Linked DNA regions of Homo sapiens: regions 2 and 3 are each linked to region 1. The links are contacts of gene promoters, found by promoter capture Hi-C in human tissues and cell types (Jung and others, 2019). All regions are on one chromosome and are shown on one strand. Each heading gives the region's core, a stretch centred on a gene start or on the middle of the fragment in contact. The rest is flanking DNA. Distances are from core to core; before and after follow the strand shown. Region 1 holds the start of SP9 (Sp9 transcription factor). Region 2 has its middle 12 kb from the start of LINC01960. Region 3 overlaps SP3 (Sp3 transcription factor).

Evidence for each region. The method cuts DNA at HindIII sites, captures the fragments that hold promoters and counts their contacts. A contact is called where the count stands out against the background at its distance.
Region 2: a fragment that was not itself captured here is called in contact with the fragment with the promoter of SP9 in region 1 in 1 of the 25 tissues and cell types used here (lymphoblastoid cells).
Region 3: a contact is called between a fragment that was not itself captured here and the fragment with the promoter of SP9 in region 1, in 1 of the 25 tissues and cell types used here (heart right ventricle).

The regions. Positions count from the first base shown.
Region 1 is chr2:174,333,647-174,336,523 of GRCh38, forward strand. It overlaps SP9 (Sp9 transcription factor), which reads left to right and starts at 1,308. Exons shown (of 2, transcript NM_001145250.2): 1 at 1,308-1,467; 2 at 2,461-2,877. The coding sequence starts at 1,447. It overlaps LOC102724194 (a long non-coding RNA gene), which reads right to left and starts at 1,330. Exons shown (of 3, transcript XR_427194.5): 1 at 94-1,330. The HindIII fragment of the contact is 14,947 bases long and covers 1-2,877 here.
Region 2 is chr2:174,035,644-174,038,343 of GRCh38, forward strand. No RefSeq gene overlaps it. Among named protein-coding and RNA genes, the nearest start is that of LINC01960, 12 kb to the left of the region's middle. RefSeq lists enhancers at 1,521-2,021, 2,022-2,522. The HindIII fragment of the contact is 5,340 bases long and covers 1-2,700 here.
Region 3 is chr2:173,920,847-173,923,546 of GRCh38, forward strand. All of the region lies in intron 4 of SP3 (Sp3 transcription factor), which reads right to left. Among named protein-coding and RNA genes, the nearest start is that of SP3, 43 kb to the right of the region's middle. The HindIII fragment of the contact is 4,507 bases long and covers 1-2,700 here.

The sequences.
Region 1 (2,877 bases), core at 58-2,557:
ACGTGTGGCCTGGTCCTCCGCCCTCCCGGGTGAAAGTCCTGGAGAGATTTCTCGGGCGCGTCCGTGAAAGCAGGGCACTAATGGGGAGCCTACCTCTTAAAACAGCGCACTTGCCCTACGGACGAGCCTCTAGGCCCTGGTGGTCTGGAATGGGAGTGGGTTGGAGCTGGGACAAGAAAACTCCACTCCAGGATGAAACGCGACATGCAAATCTTCACCGGGTTAAACAAACAGCCGAGCAAGCTGCAGCTTCAGCGGAGGTGGAGGTGGGGGCGGACGCCGCTCGCGCCGGTCTCTGTTTCCAAAGTTGTTACAGTGAGAAAATAAGCGGCTTCGTGCAGCGTGTTGTATGGGCTGATGCCTCCCACCCCCATGCCAGCCCACAGCAAAACCCGGCAGATAATCAGCACATCCCACTGTTTAGTCATATTTGACAACTGGGTTAACCTGGTATCTAAGCGCTGGCGAAACCGTACAAAGGGTGCCCTCAATTACCACCAGAAGCCTCTAGCGTGAGTGGCACTTGTATTACCCCCCGGGTCAGAGGCCAGAGCGACAATTAGGAAGTCACTTACACCGCTGGGGGGAAATGGCGGGATGCAGCAGGCTCCAGGCCCTCCCAACAAATCTGTGGATGTAGATCTGTACAGAGAGGCCTATTTCGCTCCTCTCGGAGGAGCTGTCCCTTCGCGCCCCCTCCCCAGTATAACTGTGAGAGTGAAATTGAATCTAGTGGAATAAGGAATTGGGTAGAAGACACACGAAAATGATAAAAATCACAAGCAAGAATGATAGATACAAGCTGAAGTTGTGTTCTGTAGGCAAAAGCCTGGACACACAAAGTGAGGGCTCACATTTCCGTCTCCACTTGGGCCCTGCTGGTGCGGGCTGTGTCTGGGTGTCTCCTCCCCTCCTGCCTCCTTTCCTACAAGTGGGGAGTCGAGTAGGACTGTCAGCCCTAACTTGCAACATCTCGGGGTGGTTTGTGTGTGGGGGGGTGCTTGTGGCTCGGTTTCATTGGTACTTAAACCTGGCTTGGTGCGTGAGTGTAAATTTTTAATTGCACTGTAATTTCTTCAGTCCCCAGCCCGCCCTCGCCCCCCCCCCGCAAGTATCCCCCACTACTCCCCCCCACCCCCGCGGCCCTAGCTAGCTGACTTGACTGGCACGCGCCGGGAGCCCGGGCTCGGGCCCCTCGGAGCGTCTGATTGGCTGCGGGGCAGCTCCGGTCTGCTCTGCCTGCGCCCTCATTGGGCGAGAGGCGCAGCCAGCGGCACTTCAAAGCGGGTGCTCCTCGCACTTAGGCTGAGTTTAGCCGGCGGGAGCCTGGAGTCCGCTCGGCACGAGCGCGGGGACGCGGGAGCCGCGCGGGACCCAAGCAGTTTTTCCGAGCAGCCGCCAGGCTCAGCCCCGCTCCCAGCCTCGCTGCGCAGCCAGAGACCTGCTATGGCCACGTCTATACTCGGGGTAAGTCGCAAGCGCGGCAACGCATTTGCTTGTTTTAACCGGAGTAATTTTTCGTTATGGCTTCTGGGGTCTGCGGCTCCGGAGAAACTGTTGCTGCTAGACTGCAGCTTCAGCTTCTATTAGCACTTTCCACATTTCTGGGACTGATTTTTCCCCAAGTTTTTGGAACCCAGAAAGATGCCTTTGCAAGAAAAGGCCTTCTTAATCAAGTCCTTTTTCATTTGGTTTCAAAAAAAAGCTAGAGGTTTCTTTTCTTCCCCTCGTGATTTATACCCCATCCCCCGCATTGCTTTGGGGATTTTGTTGCAATTATGCGACAATGGTGTTTCCAGAAAACAGTCTTAATCGTTTTGCAGTCCATCTAGTCACGCTAATAAACATTTACATTTCCGCGGCTCCCCAATTCGCCCATGACTTTGAAATCTGTCTCTGGCCGCTTATCCTCGGATTATTGTTTTCATAATCGCTGTTTTTGTGTGTATGTAAACTTTAAAACCAAACGTTTTCTATTAAAAAAGAAAAGTCAAGTCGTAGCCACCCTGGGAGAGCTGCAAGTTTCGCCCGTCCCTGGCAGCTGTTTCGGCCGCCTCCGCCCTCACCCGGTGTTTGTTGTCTCTGGTCTCTGTGTTTACCTTCGCGCTTCACCCCGAAGGGCGACTTGGGGTCTTCTGGGAGATGAGCCGGTTTACGGCGACAACCCAAGTCCGGTTGTAGGCAGGGTTGCAGCGGGGAACACGGAGGCATCTTTGATTTATAGCCTCAGCGAAGTGCAACTTTCCGGCGCCTGGACCTTCGCCCGGGTGATCGCCCCTGCTCCGCGCCCGGTGCGGCGACTCCTCCGCGGGCGCGTGGGGAGGAGGCGCGAGGCGGGGAGCCAGGACCCCCCGGGAGCAGCCGCAGGGGACGAGGCTGCTCACGGGTGCACTTTGTTTCTTCCCCCACTTCCTCTTGCCCTCCTCCTTCTTGCTCCCTCCCCCATCCCACCCACTCTAGGAAGAGCCGCGCTTCGGAACGACCCCGTTGGCCATGCTGGCGGCGACCTGCAACAAGATCGGCAACACGAGCCCGCTGACGACGCTGCCAGAGTCGAGCGCCTTCGCCAAAGGCGGCTTTCACCCCTGGAAGCGCTCCTCGTCCAGCTGCAACCTCGGCTCCAGCCTCTCGGGCTTCGCGGTGGCCACCGGGGGCCGTGGCTCGGGCGGCCTGGCGGGCGGCTCGGGCGCCGCCAACAGCGCCTTCTGCCTGGCCTCCACGTCGCCCACGTCGTCCGCCTTCAGCAGCGACTACGGCGGCCTCTTCTCCAACTCGGCGGCTGCCGCGGCGGCAGCGGCCGGGGTGTCCCCGCAGGAGGCGGGTGGCCAGTCGGCCTTCATTTCCAAGGTGCACACGACGGCAGCCGACGGGCTGTAC
Region 2 (2,700 bases), core at 187-2,686, 300 kb before region 1:
GCAATGCGTATGTGCACATAAACCATTTTTTGGCATTTAGGGTTATTTCTTTAAGACAGAGTCTCAGAAGTGAAGTTATCGAATTAACAAGTATGAACGCTTCTCAAGAGTTTTACATTCATACTGCCAAATTCCTCCCCAAAGGGCACTATATTAATGTATACTGTGATTAGCAATATGTAAAAATGTTAGCTTTGTGATGGCTTAAACCACACTGGCTAGTATTACTAAAAAAAAATTGTTTTTGCTAATTTAATAGGTAAAAAGTGAGCTTGATTTTTTAATGTAAACTTTGTAGTGAAGTTTATCATGCGTTCAGAAAAGTACACAAATCACGAGTGAATTTTTACAAAGTGAACACCCCTGAGTAATCAGCACCCAGATTAAGAAACAGAACCTTACCCCTAGAGGCCACTATTGTGGCCCCGTTCCCCCTCCTCCACTCCACCCAAGGGTCATCGTTGTTCTGACTTCTCCCACCAGGGGCTAGTTTTGGAAAGTGGCGTTGCTCTAATTTTCATTTCCTGGATTACTAGTGGATCTAACCGCTTGCCACATCTTAGTTGATGAGCTGTAGTTTCTCTTTTGTAAATTGTCTTTTTAAGTTCTTTGTCTCAGAAACTGTTGATTCTTAAGCTATTTCCCAATGTCGAGTTTGGCTAAAGGCGGAGTGTAGTCATCATGACATTGTTTGAAACTGGAGAAACATGTCGTATGTGTGTCTATGTGTGTACGTTTTTTGCTCTCATGATCTTATCCTGACAATGTAGTAGTCCCCCCATCCAAAGTTCCACTTTCCATAGTTTCAGTTACCCATGATCAGCCTTGGTCTGAAAATATTAAATGGAAACACCAGAAATAAACAATTCCTAAGTTTTCAGTTGTATACTGTTCTGGGTGGCATGATTAAATCCCATACTGCCCCACTCTGTCCTGCCAGGACGTGACTCACCCCTTTGTCCAGCATCTTGGTGCCATAGACGCTCCCTGCCCGTGGTTGCTCCGTAGCCCTCTTGGCAGTATCACTATGCCTGTGTTCCAGTAACTCTTACTTCACTTAATTGTTCTATCTTGTTATTAGTTATTGTTGCTAATCTCTTACTGTGTCTAATTTATTAATTAAGCTTTATCATAAGTATGTATATACAGGAAAAAACGTAGCCTATGTAGGGTTCAGTACTATCTGTAGTTTCAGACAAACACTGAGAGTCTTGGGGTGAATTCCCTCCATGAGGGGGGACAGGTGTACTCCTCTTATTTATGCTTCTCCATTGCAAAGCAAGATGGCATCTCTCTAGGCAACACCTGGAAGCCAGGGTAACTTTTTGGTGACAAAGCTGAGCCTAAATAGTCTCTGCTGTACTTCCAGTGTCTGTGAGAATTACAGAAATAGGTCACTGAACCTTTTTAAAAATAGAACTGACACATTTGGGGAAAGCATTTTTTCTGCTGAGATAGCACACAGTACAAGATGAAATGATCCCTAGAGGGTAGATGAATTTAGACATTTGGTATTAAAAATAAATAAATAGTCTTAATGACTCACAGGGAACATAGCACCTTTCATAAGAAAGGTCTCTAAACATTGTTACCTGAACAGACCACAATAAATTTCTAATATACAAGGTACAAGCCATTGCCAGCCCCTGCCCACCTACACCTGGCAACAGCTTTTGATGGGAAGAGAAGGGCCACATTGGCTGTGGGCAGTTCCCTCAGCAATGCCAGATGTCCTGTCTCCCTGGGTTTGCTTGATCCCCTCTTAATTTCCTACACAGCCCACCAGCTCACCCTTGGACAGGCATATGGCTGCATAAGAGGCAAGAAGGGGTAGGGTTACCACACTGCCTGCGAGCATCTCCACTCCAGCTCTTCCAAGGCCTTGACCGCTTTGTGTTAGGGCAGCCCCAGAATCCTTTACCCAACGCTCCCCATGAGCTGTCTGGGACCCCAGATCTGCCTGTGCGGGGCCCTTTTCCACTTCCTCCTGAGCCATCTTCAGAAAGCTCCCTCTGGCTATTGCCCAGCCCCTCTTCACACCCCCTGCTGCCTTCAGGAGCCTCATGAATCCACAGTGGACCTCAGGTCTTCTTAAGAGATTCCTAAGGAACTCCCTCCCCTTCCATGCTGGGCTCTGCTACTGAGAAGAGCAAGGTCTGCCGGCTGGAAGGCAGGACCTCGGGGTACTGCGGGGAAGATGCTTTGATTTAGTCCAAGAATGGCAGGAGAATACCAAGAGGGATTGGCTGTCCCAGAAGTGGGGCGTGAATGGAAGCAAGGGGTGAAGTAGAGCAGGGGCAGGGCCACTCGCCTTTTAGGAAGCGTGGGCAGCAGGGAGAAAGGTATAGGGCTGTCACTACCCAGGTATCAGAGCAGTGGCTCTGGGAATGTGGGAAATAGGAGGGGACAGAGGGACAGGTATAAGACATTCTTCAGAAGTAGAACCCACTGAAGATTTGGTGACATAGAGTTGGCACCAAGGGAAAGACGAGTCACAGATGCCATGCAGCACCTTCTAACAAGAACTCAGCTCCTTTCATGATACAAGTGTCCATTCCATAGGAGTGTACTGAGTGCTTACTTTGTGGCAGATACTGCTGTAGACTCTAGAAATGACATGTAGCTACTACCCAAAGGGAGTTTTAATTCTGTTGGGAGAAAGGCAGGCAATGCAGACAACAAAGTAAACAAATAAAAAAG
Region 3 (2,700 bases), core at 171-2,670, 410 kb before region 1:
TCCCAAAGTGCTGGGATTACAGGCATGAGCCACTGAGCCCAGTTTAAAAATAATTATTTAAATGTGAAGGGAGTAGGTGCTCCATGGGGATAGAAGAGTGGTGACTGCCTACTTTTGAGGGACATATATGACTGAGTACAGGGAGATTTCAGGGTTGCTGGTAATATCCTATTTCTTGATCTGGGTGGTAGTTTTCCTATGTGTTCATTTTGTAAAATTTCATCAAGTTATATACATTTGATCTCTACATTTTCTGAATGCATATTGTACTTCAATATAAAGATTATTATAAATTAAATATTTTAACGTAATTTATAGGTGATTACTTAGGAACTGTTAAAGACAATTTTTTTGCTTTACCTCTAGTTCCCACATAGTTGACTAAACCTTCCCCCATTTTTATACAAATAATAAAATGAGTGTGTCCCACAAATTAAATTCATAATATGAAATTTAGAATATGATTTTATTCACTCAACAACTATATGTATGGCTACGATGTGCCAGTCACTGTTCTAAGTTCTAAGGATAAGGCAGTTAGCAAGTTAAAAGTTCATGCTGACTGGGCAGGGTGGCTCATGCCTGTAATATCAGCACTTTGGGAGACCGAAGCGGGAGAAACGATTGAACCTAGGAGTTCAAGACCAGCCTGAGCCAAGAGAGAGCGGTCCCGTCACTATCCAAAAACAAACAAACAAACAAACAAACAAACAAACAGGCCAGGCAGGCATGGTGGCACATGCCTTGTGGTCCCAGCTACTCAGGAGACTGAAGTGGGAGAATCACTTGAGCCCAGGAGGTTCAGGTTGCAGTGAGCCATGATCACATCACTGCCCTCCAGCCTGGGCAACAAAGAAAGACCCTGACACAGTTTAGATATTTGTCCCCATCCAAATCTTATGTTGAAATGCAATCCCCAAAGGTGGAGGTGGAGCCTGGTAGGAGGTGATTGGATCATGGGGGCGGATTTCTCATAAATGGTTTAGCACCACTGTCTTGGCACTGTCCTTGCAATAGTTAAGAGATCTGGTTTAAGTGTGTGGCACCTTCCCTCCTACTCTTTCTCTGTCTCTCACCTCCCTCTACTTCTACCATGTGACGTGCCCATTCCCCATTTGCCTTCTGCCATGAGTAAAAGCTTCTTGAGGCCTTCCCAGACCCAGATGCCAGCACTATGCTTCCGGTACAGCCTGCAGAACTGAGTCAATTAAACCTCTTACAAATTACCCAGTCCCAGATATTTCTATATAGTAATACAGGAATGGCCTGACACAGTCTTAAAAAGAGATGATAGTGGCCTGAAGCTAAGGTATTGAGGAGGAGGGGTAGAATTGTTCAGTCAGAAAATATGTTTAAAGTAGAGTCAAAGACATCTGCTAACAGATTGATAACAGGTTATCATGTGAGGAGCAAGAACAGAAAGAAGTTAAAAACACTCCCAAGGTTTTTTTTTTTTTAAATCCTGAGCAACTAGAAAGATGGAGTTGCCATTAACTGAGATATGGTAAACTGAAGGTAGAAAAGATTGCAGGGGAGGGGTGCCAGTCAGGGGCCTATTTTGAAATATGAAAGTTCTGAATGCCTATTGAATATCCAGATGAAGGTGTTCATCAGACAGTCAATGGGTTTGGAGTTCAGGTAGAAATCTGGCCTGCCAATATCAGCATATACATTAGGCATTGAGAGTCATCTGGAATATAATGTAGACAGGAGGAAACCCTGCAGCACTCCAAAATTAACAAGCAGAGACTAAAAAGAACCAGCATAGGGGACTGAGAGTGCCAGTGAGATATGAGGAAACTGGTGTCCAGAAACCAAACTGAAGAAATCATTTCGGGAAGAACTTAACTGTGTCAAATACTTAAAAAGTCAAGTAAAATAAAGACTAAGAAATGATCCTTGGATATAACATTGTGGTAATCACTGGTGATCTTGACAAGAACTGTGAGCACAAAACCCTGCCTAGTATAGACTCCAGAGAGTGGAAGGAGATGAATTGTAAACAAGTACAGGTTAACTCTTTCCAAGGGTTTTGCTATAAAAGCAAGCATTATAAAATTGGCAGTACAGTTCCTAGGTTAGCCCACAAGGGTAGATTTGACACATAAGGGTACCTGAAGTATTTGTAAATCAGCCTTTATATTCTGTAGCAATAGTGCATGCTAGCAGTATAAAGAAATGAATGTGCTGACTTAAATTTGATTAATATTTGAGGAAAAGTATGCAAAAAATTTAAGCAATGAAAACAGAAATTCAAGGAAATGTGTATGACACATTTAAGAACTTTATAAACAGCACTGTTTTTTTATGTCTATTCTCCACCTCAAAATGTTTAAGTTTCCTTTTCATTTGATGAGTTATTGCACTGACAGTATCTCTGTCCTGTGATTATGGCTGTTTTCAAGGCCTACCAATAAAACAAGCTTGCGAAAGGGGTATGTACAAAAGAAAAAAAAATTCTGCATACCTGGGCAAGAATTGAAGAGAAAAAAACAGAAAATTTAAATAATGAAATATACACACACACCCACACACACAATATGGTTACAAAGATAAGGCTAATTTTCAGTATTAGTTAAGTATCAATAACTCAGGGCATGCCTAGATTTCTATTAAAAATATTACAAGAAAATCCTAAATACCTCTTCCTAAAATTAACTGCTAATTATTTATCAATAGAGCTAACAGAACATTTAAGAT